2 separate regions of the Homo sapiens genome follow, and region 1 is linked to region 2. The links are contacts of gene promoters, found by promoter capture Hi-C in human tissues and cell types (Jung and others, 2019). All regions are on one chromosome and are shown on one strand. Each heading gives the region's core, a stretch centred on a gene start or on the middle of the fragment in contact. The rest is flanking DNA. Distances are from core to core; before and after follow the strand shown. Region 1 overlaps LOC105369325 (a long non-coding RNA gene). Region 2 holds the start of MS4A15 (membrane spanning 4-domains A15).

Region 1 (5,823 bases), core at 2,437-4,936, 320 kb before region 2:
TCTGCCGCGTGTGTACCAGGCTGGAAAGTAAAGCGTGCCCCATGGCATACAAGCCACACCCTGCCTGTGGCCTTGCCCGGCAGGAAGGGGGCTGCAGGGGAGCCCCTTTACTGGGCTGTGTGTTTCTGTGGGGGCTGGATCCTGCCCTCCAGGGGGCCACTCTCAGTGCCTGCTCTCTGTGCCCCTGTGAGGTTTATCTGACCAGTGTGCAGGGCTGCCGAGGTCCCTGGATGAGACAGGCATTGGGCAGGAAGCCCCGGGCTTGATGCTGGGCAACACGCCCATGGGTGAGGTCTGGGTAGGGTGTGGGAAAGAGTGTGGGGGGCGGAAGGAAGCTGGACCTGGCCCTGCCTCCGCTCTCACCCTCAGCCAGGCCCTGCCAAGGCTTCCTCCCCCAGGAAGACCTCCTCGGTTCCCTCTCTGCATTGAGGTATGGCCTGCTCCTTCTTCCTCCATCTTTTCTGGAGTCTAAGCTCCCTTCTGACTTTCCCCTCTGACAAAGGGGTTAGATAGAAAAGTGAGAAGTCTCAAATTCTGTAATCCCGAGAGCCCATTCCTCTCCAGACCCCGCTAATACACAGTGCGGACAGAGCGTGTCCAGTCAGGTTCCAGGACAATTTCTGATACAGGATGTGTGGAGAAAATGGGTTACTTAAAGCGCAAATGAAGATTTCTCCTGTGGGGTCCAGAGCTTAGCTGAAGTCCTTCCAGCATCTGGATCCCAAAGAGGGAGGCTGCATGCTGGGGACAAGGGCTGATGTCGGGGATCAGAGAGGCTTCTCTATGTTGAGGTCCAGAGTCGGGCATGCCACGGAGCAGCCACCCCTGGAAATGGGATCTTTCAGCCCAAGAGACCCTCAAAGGCTTTGGGACAGAGAACTCCTTTTTTGAGGTCCTGTTATTCACTGCCCCCCAGTTGTGAGTGAATCTAAAGGGAGGCCTGTGGGGCCCAGCTAATGAGCTCCCTTTCTTCTGGCCAGAGTTTGGGAATCCCAGGGAGCGGGGAGGAGGTTCTACTCCCAGCTTCTCAAGGTAGCCAGAACGACACGTGGGCCCCAGAGCTGGGGACAGAGCTCCCTCTCCAGGCACTTCATTGAGAGCTACTGGGGCTCTAGTCTGGTTTCTGGCTCCTCTGAGGGTGCCCCTGGCATAGGAAGTTGTCTAGGGGCACACTGAGCCCTGGGTGGAACAGGCGTCCTGACCTTGGGATCCATGTTTGTCCTTCAGTGTTCCACAAGCTGCCTGACACCATGGGTGGTCATTTGTGTGTTTTTCTGGGGAGAAGGCCCGCACCTTTAGTCTGCACCTCAGTGCCTCCCATGCCCCTAAAAAAGGCTCTATGCTGGGCTCATGCCTGTAATCTCAACACTTTGGGAGGCTGAGGCAGGCGGATCGCGAGGTCAGGAGATCGAGACCATCCTGGCTGTGGTGAAACCCTGTCTCCACTAAAAATACAAAAATTAGCTGGGCATGGTGGTGAGCGCCTGTAGTCCCAGCTACTCGTGAGGCTGAGGCAGGAGAATGGCGTGAACCTGGGAGGTGAAGTTGCAGTGAGCCAAGATTGCGCCACTGCACTCCAGCATGGCAACAGAGCGAGACTCCGTCTCAAAAGAAAAAAAAAAAAAAGAAAAAGAAAAAAAGAAAAGAAAAGGAAAAAAAAAGGCTCTAGAAGCTCTGGTGCAGTACAAGGCGGGTCTGCCTGGAAGTGTGGTTTCATATTTTGTTGGTTTGCCAGGTTTAGCTGCAGAGAATGCAAGTTCTCCCCACTTCGGAGACCGCGGCTTGGTGACCTGGGGTTTGTGCTTTGTGTCTTCATTGCTGAGCTCCTTGTGCAGTTACTTGTTCTGCTAGAGATTATAGCATTTCTTTCGTCTTCCCAGCTCCTGCAATGAGGTGAGGATGCCTCTGTTCTGAGGAGCCTCAGGTAGGGTGCTGGGGCTTGTTTGATTCAATAGTTGGAGCTGAAATGAATCCGTTATATAGAGAAGAAAGCTGAGTCCCCCCAGGGTCAAGTGACTGACACAGGCCCACATAGCTGGTCCAGACTTAAGGTTCTGGATCCCGGGTCCTTTCATCCTGTTATTCCTCAACCTTCCCTGTTGCTGTGGGAACAACAGAAGGGGCCAGAGAGGGTTAATTCTAGTAATTTTCATGCAGCAGCCGTGTAACCTACTGCACACTGCCATCCTACAAGCATGGGTTCTTGTCCGTGCATTATAGCTGTGGCCCAGAGTGGATGGTTCTGTTGTCTGACCCCAGAGTCCCTGAGTGTCCCACAAAACTATCCTGTTCCTTTGGATTTTCCTGATCTCTTTTTGCATCACCACAGGCTTCTTTGACTCCAGGAACAGCCCATTCATGTCAACCAAAATTCTAAATTCAGCACCTCAGAAGTATGACCAGCAAAACCGATCTGACACTAAGTCCCACTGGCCCCCTACTTTTAGTGGACAAAAAGGCCTCACAGGCTTCGTCTCTCCCAGGAATTTGAGGAGTTCAGAGATGAGGAGAGGGGATTGGACACAGCAAAGCCTGGCCTGGCAGAGAGGGGGGTGGGCGAGCCTCACCCTGAGAAGGTGTTTCTTCCTCCTTATGGCCGTGGTCCTTTTTGATGTTAGATGCTTTTGTTTCCCAGGTGTATGGGGACCTGGGACCTGTGGGTTTTGGAGTGCTTGTCATGACTAGGCCCAGCTTTGGGGACAGGGTGGGGACGACTACTCCCAGGTTCTCAAGAGGAAAAAACTTCTGTACATTTCAGAAATGCAATAGATCTGTTATCAGCTCTACGCACTGCAAAACGCAAGTTCCTTTCTTATTTGATCTGACAGTGAAAAAATTCACAGATGTTTTATTGGAAGGTTAGAAAATAAAAAAGAACCCTTTCTCAGTCCAGGTAGTCTGCCCCCCATCACCTTGGCGTGTCTGCGGCTGTGCTGGGCCTGGGCTTGTGCGTGGATGAGGAGACAAGGCTCAGAGTGGAGCAGGGGGAGGCTCGGAGGCCTTTGCTTTGCAGCCCCACCCGCAGGCTCAGCAGGGTGGGCCCCTGTGCTAACACTCACCCCCACCCTGCCCCTCAGTTCTTGTTTCCATCTACCTTCGTCCCTCTCACCAGTCCCAACGCAGAGGGCCAGGTTTTCTTTAGTTTTCTTAACTACGTCTTTTCTTCTGGTTGGGAAAAATAATATTTACTACCTCTTGTACAGTTTGGAAATACATAAAATATGTAGAAAAAAATTAAATGTGGCTGGACGTGGTGGCTTGTGCCTGTAATCCCAGCACTTTGGGAGGCCAAGGCAGGCAGTTCACCTGGCTGTTGGTCAGGAGTTCGAGACCAGCCTGGTCAACATAATGAAACCACGTCTCTACTAAAAATACAAAAACTAGCCAGGTGTGGTGGCGGGTGCCTGTAGTCCCAACTACTCAGGAGGCTGAGGCAGGAGAATCGCTTGAACCCAGGAGATGGAGGTTGCAGTGAGCCGAGATCACGCCATTGCACTCCAGCCTGGGTGACAGAGTGAGACTCTGTCTCAAGAAAGAAAAAAAATTAAATCAGCTCAGAATCCCACAAGGCAGAGGTCTCCCCAGTAACCACCAGCTGCAGAGGCTGTGTGCCTCAGTTGCGTGCCAGCTGATGACCTCCTCAGCACAACCAGTTAAACCTTTATTTATTTCAGCTTTTCTCTATCTTTATAAAGCTTTTCCCCCCTTCATTGTGAAGATAGCATGCTCATTGGAGACAATTTGGAAAGCACAGAAAGATATTTTCATGCTTCTTTAAGCAAAGAGAGGAAATTTATTCCCATCTCCCCAAACTGCCATCAGCAGTTTGGAGTAGCTCCTGGTCTTTGTGGACTTTTGAAAAAGCACATGTTGTCTGGGCGCAGTGGCTCATGCCTGTAATCCTAGCACTTTGGGAGGCCGAGGCGGGTGAATCACAAGGTCAGGAGATCGAGACCATCTTGGCCAGCATGGTGAAACCCCGTCTCTACTAAAGACACAAAAATTAGCCGGTCGCAGTGGCGTGCGCCTGTAGTCCCAGCTACTCTGGAGGCTGAGGCAGGAGAATCACTTGAACCCAGGAGGCGGAGGCTGCAGTGAGCCAAGATCATACCACTGCACTCCAGCCTGGGCAATAGAGCAAGACTCTGGCTCAAAAAAAAAAAAAAAAAAAAGCATATTTTTTCCAGTTGAGAGCATGTTCTATAGAAGATTCTGGGTCCTGGTTTGTCACGCGACAACAGAGTAACATAAGCATTTCCCATGTTAATACAAACAGCAGTCCTCACGTATGTTCTGGGCTCATGTGCACAGACTCTACCCAGCACTGTGCAGGCACCATCTTGCTCAGTTCTTGAGAAACCTTATGAGGCAGGTGTGGTTATTAATTTTGCAGACAAGGAAGCCGAGCTGACCTCATCTGAGGTCTGAGAGCCAGGGAGCAACAGGGGATTGGCGTCGAAGGCTCAGCCAGCTTAGATCCCTGCTCTTAATCACTAGGTTATCTCTCCTGTGAATTTTTAGTGACCTTTCTAGTTTTGTATAAAACCAGAAAATGACCTTTGTTAAAAATTCAGGAATTACTGAACAGCATAAAGAATATTCAGAATCCTATCACCCAGTGATATTTATTCTGGCAATTGGCAGTTTCTTGTGCATAGTCTTCATATTTTTATAGTTGATGTTATCCTAACCTTTCAGTTTCGAATGTGGTGTTTTTTAAATTTATTTTTGTATGTATTTCCCAAGTCATTAGTTCCTCTTGGCAAAACATAATGTTTATTGATGGTTTGTCCGTCCATTGAGTGGTCGGTCTTGATGGGTGTAATCACTTCCCTGAGGTTGGGCTTTCAGGCTGCGGCTCTCTGAAATAATAAATAATTTAGGAATCAATACGTTTCTGCACAAAATGGTTTGTGTATTTCTGACAATTTCTTTAGGCTGCGCATATTCCCAGGAACTGAATTGCTGGGTTGAGGGTTTTTACAGTTCTTAACTTATATTGCCAAATTATTTTCCAGATGGTCCGTAACTCTTTACTCTTCAATTAGCAATACCCTGTTTACTCCTAACTAGATGAATATGTGACCTTGTTTTAGTTTGCACTCCTTTTATTTCTAATGAAGCTGAATTTCTAAATGTGTTTATTGGTCACTGGTGAGTCTTCTTTTGCGCACTGTCTAAAGCAGTGCTTTCCAATCAAGCTTTCTGCAATGATAGAAATGGCCTGTATCTTCCTGTTTAATAGGGTCCACGTGGCCTATATCTGCCTGTCCAGCAGCAACCAGCCAAATGTGTCCATTGAGTACTTGAAATATGGCTAGATAACTGAGTAAAATTTAAATTTAATTTTATTTAAATTTAGACTTAATTTACCTAAGGTTTTAATTTAAACTTGATTTTAATTTAATTTACCTAAGATTTTAATTTAAATCCTAAATTAATTTAAATTTAAATAGCCACATGTGGCTAGTGGCTACTATATTGGATAGCACACTCCTAAGCCTTTCCCCAGTTAGGCATTTGGGTCTCAGTGGGTGATTTATATTGATTTGTATGAGCTCTTTATTTATGATGGCTACTAATCTTTTTTATGTTTGTTGCAAAGATTTTACCCCACTTGCTATTTGACCTTTTTTGTTCAGGTTGTTTACAGGGTATCAAAATGTTAGGTAGCCAAATCTAGTGATCTTTTTTTTGTGGTTTCTCCCATAGCTTTAGGGTTAGAAAGTCCTCCCCCACACAGAGGTTTGATAAATACTCTCATCAACTTTTTTCAAGTCTTTCTGTGATTTTTTTTTCCTTTAGCTCTTTAATCCACCCAGA
Region 2 (5,867 bases), core at 88-2,587:
CTGAGTCTGAGCTGAAGCAAAAGGCCCTGTTCCCAATAGCATATCAAGTTGTATCGGGATATTATTATCCAAATTTTGCAAGGACTGCTGCATGGCTAAATCACTGTACTCACTCCACCACACAGTATATTCTGCAGCTGAAACCAAAACATTTACCAAAGTTTTCCAATCATGTGGAGTCATCTTATAGCCATTTCCCAGAGCCTCAATCACCTCCTTCGTAAACGGTGAATGTACACTGTTTTCACGGATACTTTTCTTTAACTCTTTAAAGACAGTAAAAGGCAAACTCTCATGCCATCTCCTGTTGCTTTGAACAATAACAGGGAATGCGCCAAAAAGCGCCTCAGAGTCTCCCTTCCTAAGTCCCTCTTGGAGGCACCCCTCTACTAAGAAAGTTTGACGAGGAGTTGGCGTTGAGGACACGGCCACCCGATCATATAGATATTCACTGACTGGAGGTCTTATCCAAGAACCATCTCTTGGGCGGCCTCCAGACTCCTCAAGGGGGATGGGAGGCGCCATTGCCTGAACGGGGCCAACGAATACAGGTCCCTTTAAGGGTGGAGGAAAAGAGGGCAATGGCTTTTCTATAGGGGGAGGAAAAGGCTCCGGTCCGTCCTCATGATCACTAGAAAAAAATATCCTCCTTATGCCCTACAGAAGGGAATGAAGTAGAGAGAGGACCCCCCGCCCGCCTCCCGCTGTCCTGGTTGGCTCCTGTTCTTCCTTCTCCTTTAAACCTCCTGAATTCCCTTCAGGCAAAGACGGGCGGTCTGACCCACTGCAATCTGGCAGATAAAGAGGATACAACACCGAGTGTACCGGCGCCCAGGTGGTCAAAACAATAACCTCAGTAAAATGACCTTGCTCACATCCTGTTTTCAGGCAGTGACCTACCTGCTCCATAACTCAAGTCTAAGGTTCCTTGATCAGGAAACCAAGGGCATTCCTGCCGAATTAAGATCATAGCGTTGTGTAGAGCTCCAGGCTCTGCAGTGCACTGGTTAGCCTTAAGTAGCTGTCGCACTGTTTTTAAAAAACACTTTCTGTTCTTTGGTCATTTCTTGACCCATGATAATCCAACCCCTGATATTTTACGCGTGGGTCCCATCCTCCTGACGGGAGTCAGGACTGTCCCTTACCGGGATTCCCCGAAAATTGATGAGTTTTCCTCCTTCAAGCGTAACTTCAAGGCGATCACGTCGGGGTCACCACTTGCAGAGCTTATAGCTTGCAGTGAACGCCAAGAATGAGTTCTTAGACAATTTCAGCTGAAGGGGGCTGGGAGAGGGGGTGGGGGCAGCTCTTCTGAGAGCCCGCCCTTGTGAGAGCCTGCCCTAGCATCTGTCCGCCAAGTATTTATTGAAAGGGATTGTTAAACCACAAACATCCACTAGATGGCTTTTTGAGGTGGGGTCATGAGACACCTGCGGCCTTGCAAAAGCTCTCAAACCACATTCTTAGGAGGCTGTTTTCAGCGTTCCTTATGACACACTTCACTCCTTGTCCTGTTTTTAGGGCCAAGGAGTTACATTCTTATGCACAAATAACATACACACAGTGCCTCCGTATTTTTCCATGCCCTGACCTCAAATGCCACGTACATAAGCTTGGATATGTTGCCATGTACCCCAACACTTTAGGTGTGGCTGGCCTGGGCAAACACTTTGGGAAAAAACACCCATTACCCAGGTGTCAGGAGATGAGCTTACCAGGAAACAACAGAGTGCTGAATCTGCCAGATTATACAATGAGATCGAAAACAGTCATCCTTCTTGTTGGCATGGGTGTGTGAGGAGTTTACCAGTTCAGTGTAAGGGTCTGAGATAGAAGCCAGGGTTTGAATTCTGGCTCCTCTTGTTACTGTGAGGCACGGGAGCGAGAGGGTCACCCTCTGCCTCAGTTTCCTTACCTGTGAAATAGGGATAATACCAATCTCATAGAGTTTGGTGGGAAACACACACCAACTTGATAAAATCCATCCCTTACAACGTGACTTGTTATAACACGATGCGGCTGAGATGTTTTGTTAAATATAACATATCTAAGCCAGTGACTTACAATGGACCGTGGATGTGCATTGCTTCCCAGTGCTCTGAGACCTACTATGCATGCTCGGGAGAGCACCAGCTTGCAGATTGTGCAGCAGATTCTCTGTGGTTCTGCAAGCGCTCTTGGCTGATAAGGGCTCAGCCTCACTGTTCTGTGCTCAAAATATGTGTGTCTTCAGGAAGCCTCTGTGCCATTTATTTTGTGATAGGTCTGACCTATATTGGTGAACAAAGGGGGCAAGGGACAGCGTTGGACCCTATGCAGAGAAATAGAGCGAAAAGGACACATAGGCTCTTGAGCAAGGTTTTCAGTGACTGGAGGCACCTCCAAGGAGATGGCTGAGAAAACACAGGATAAGAATCTGCTGGCATTAAGGGGTGGGGGAAGCCATTTGACATTTTTAAGGGCTTACTAACATGGCTCCCTTCAGCCTAGGAGGTGTGACCAACACGTGATGCTCAGAGTGGATCACCAGAGGGATTGTGCTGTGACTTCCCAAATAGCACCGTCTCCACTGAGTCTCTCATTTCCAGGATCTGACACTAACCTGATTATTAGTAGACATGACAACTACTCAGAGCAGGGTTGGCAAACTTTTTTCAAGAATCAGATAGTAGGCCGGGCACGGCGGCTCACGGCTGTAATCCCAGCACTTTGGGAGGCCAAGACGGGTGGATCACAAGGTCAGGAGATTGAGACCATCCTGGCTAATATGGTGAAACCCTGTCTCTACTAAAAATACAAAAAATTAGCCGGGCGTGTTGGCGGGTGCCTGTAGTCTCGGGAGGCTGAGGCAGGAGAATGGTGTGAACCTGGGAGGCGGAGCTTGCAGTAAGCCGAGATCGCGCCACTGCGCTCCAGCCTGGGTGACAGAGCGCGACTCCATCTCAAAAGAAAAAAAAAAAAAGAGAGAATCAGATAGTAAATATTTTGGGCTTTGGGGACCCATATAACTTCGATTGCAAACACGTGACTCTTCCATTGTAGTGCAAAGCAGACATAGGCAATATATACCCAAATGGGTGTGGCTGTGTTCCAATAAAACTTTATTTATGCCTGGGTGCAGTGGCTCATGTCTGTAATCCCAGCACTTTGGCAGGCTGAGGTGGGCAGATTGGTTGAGCTCAGGAGTTTGAGACCAGCCTGGGCAACATGGTGAAACCTCACCCCTACCAAAAAAAAATACAAAAAAATAGCCAGGTGTGGTGGCACACACATGTCGCAGCTGCTCGTGAGGCTGAGGTGGGAGGATCTCTTGAGCCCCGGAGGTCAAGGCTGCAGTGACCTGAGACTGCGCCCCTGCACTGCAGCCTGAGTGACAGAGTGAGAACTTGTCTCAAACAAAACAAAACAAAAACTTATTTACAGAAACAGATGGTGAGCCAGGTCTGATCTGTGGGCTGTAATTTGCCAACCCCATTCTTAGAACACTGCCTGGCACATAGTAAACACTCATTAAATTTTAGCTATTGCTTCAACTTGCATGTCTCAGCCTCCAGAACTGTGAGGCATAAATTTCTGTTCTATATAAATTACCCAGTCTCAGGTGTTCTGTTATAGCAGCACAAAATGGACGTATTTGGAAAGACTATATAGTTTCTGAGGACATTGCTAAATATTGCCTATCCTAGTTGTTTATCTTGATTATTTGCTGTGATTTTGGGCAAAATGTGAAATGGCACTGAGCTAGTCTACATTTCCATAAAATAAAAATAAAGATACTGAAGGCTGCTCACTGTGCCTCAGTTTATTGTGAGGGTCGAAAATGGTAAGAAAGTCCTTGGAGATTGGTGAGGTGCTGTGAATGTTTTGGGGTTCACTTTTGGGGGAGGGTTTCAAGATGATGTTGCTAATGATCCTATCTCATCACTCACCTCTCTGGAACTTTCTTTTTTTTTTTTTTGAGATGGAGTCTTGCTCTGTCACCCAGGCTGGAGTGCAATGGCGCAATCTGGGCTCACTGCAACCACCACCTCCCAGGTTCAAGCAATTCTCCTGCCTTAGCCTCCCAAGTAGCTAGGACTGTAGGCGTCACCAACATGCCCAGCTAATTTTTGTATTTTTAGTAGAGACAGGATTTGGCCATGCTGCCCAGGATGGTCTTGAACTCCTGACCTCAGGTGATCCACCCACCTTGGTCTCCCAAAGTGCTGGGATTACAGGTACAAGCCACTGCGCTTGGCCCTCTCTGGAACTTTCTAAACCAATTAACAGTGATAGAGCCCCACATTGTTTCTGCACTGGTGCCAGGTTAATAAGAGCTTATCATAAACATTTTTTGAGGACTTGCTCTTTCCTAGGCACTTCAAATAAGTTATTTCTTATCCTCACAATGGTCCTTTGATAATTCCTGAAAGTTTTTTTTACGGCTGTGATAACCTCGGTTCAGGGCAGTGAAAGGACTTGCTCAAGGTGATATATCATGAAATGGCTGAGCTGGGATTCAAGTCCAAGTTTGGCCATCCGCAGAGTCTGCATCTGTGCCCCCTATTGCTGTCTCCAGTGCCAGACACAACTGTTATCTCCCTATTGTTCCCAGCCCTTACATTCTGGGTGCCTTCAAGTTTGGCATGGCCACGTGACTTGTTTTGGTTAAACCAATGCAAGTGGAAGTAAACGCATAGCTTCTGGGTGGAGCATTTAGGTGTCAGCACGTGACTCTGCAGGGCTCTTTTTCCCTTTGTCACAGTGACTATCAGTGTTCCAGGCAGAGCCTGCCTTATCCATCTGGGTCCCTGAGTGAACAGAGCCTCCAGGAGACATAGAACAGAAGGAAGAAATAAACCTTTGTTGTGTTAAGCCACTCAGCTGTTTGTTATAGCAGCATAACTTAAGTTTCTCCTGATTGTTATATTTTCCCAGAATGAATCCATACAGGAGTAAAACACAAAGTCCATGTCCTCAAAGGACTTAGAGTTTAGTAGGAGGAGCAAGAGCAGTTTGCAATTCAGTCCAACAAACAATTGTTAAGTGTTTACTATGAGCACCAAGTTCAGGGACTGGGAATGCAACGATGAATTAAGGCTGGATGTCCTGCTCTCAGAGACTAGCAAGGTAGAGGAGGCTCGGTGGGGGGAGGGAGAAGGGTTCCTGATTGTGGAACTCAGGGATGTCTTCAGGGAGGACGTGGACCCAAAACAAGGGTCCTCTGCCTGCTCCCCTGCTGTCCCCATCTCCCTTGCCCCACGCTCCTTCTCTTTCCTTTTTCTCTCTTCTTCAATCTCTTTCTTCTTCCCCACCTTCTGTGGTTTGAATGTGTCCCCTCCAAAATTCATGTTGAAACTTAATCTCCATCGTGATGGCATTAGGAGGTGGGGCCTTTTGGAAAATGGTTAAGTCATGAGGGCTCTGCCTTATTAGTAGACTCATGCCTTATAAAAGGCAGAGAGGGAACTAGCTTAGGTCCTTTTGCCCTTATGCCTTCCATCATGTGAAGACACAGCATTTGTCCCCCACGGAAGATGCCGCAACAAAGCGCCACCTCGGAAGTAAGTGAGGAATGGGGCTCTCACCAGACACCAAATCTGCTGGCACCTTGATCTTGGACATCTCAGCCTCCAGAGCTGTGAGGCATACATTTCTGAAGTTTATAAATTATCCAGTCTTGGGTATTCTGTGATAGCAGCACAAAATGGACATATCTGGGGAGACTCTACAGTTTCTGAGGACATTGCTAGAGATTGCCTTGGCTGGGAGTCCATGAACACTGGACAAGAGAAACACATGGCAGAATAATGAAGAACTTGGGGTGAGGGGGGACCCACCCCGCCCATCGGTCTTTCCCTTCCTCAGATGTAATAATGAACATTTAC

Evidence for each region. The method cuts DNA at HindIII sites, captures the fragments that hold promoters and counts their contacts. A contact is called where the count stands out against the background at its distance.
Region 1: a contact is called between a fragment that was not itself captured here and the fragment with the promoter of MS4A15 in region 2, in 1 of the 25 tissues and cell types used here (adrenal gland).

Annotation. Positions count from the first base shown.
Region 1 is chr11:61,076,686-61,082,508 of GRCh38, reverse strand. All of the region lies in intron 1 of LOC105369325 (a long non-coding RNA gene), which reads left to right. It overlaps LOC124902677 (a long non-coding RNA gene), which reads right to left. Exons shown (of 2, transcript XR_007062690.1): 2 at 4,600-4,862. Among named protein-coding and RNA genes, the nearest start is that of CD5, 23 kb to the left of the region's middle. The HindIII fragment of the contact is 5,190 bases long and covers 1,092-5,823 here.
Region 2 is chr11:60,752,337-60,758,203 of GRCh38, reverse strand. It overlaps MS4A15 (membrane spanning 4-domains A15), which reads right to left and starts at 1,337. Exons shown (of 7, transcript NM_001098835.2): 1 at 1,146-1,337. RefSeq lists a silencer at 4,516-4,727. The HindIII fragment of the contact is 8,663 bases long and covers 1-5,374 here.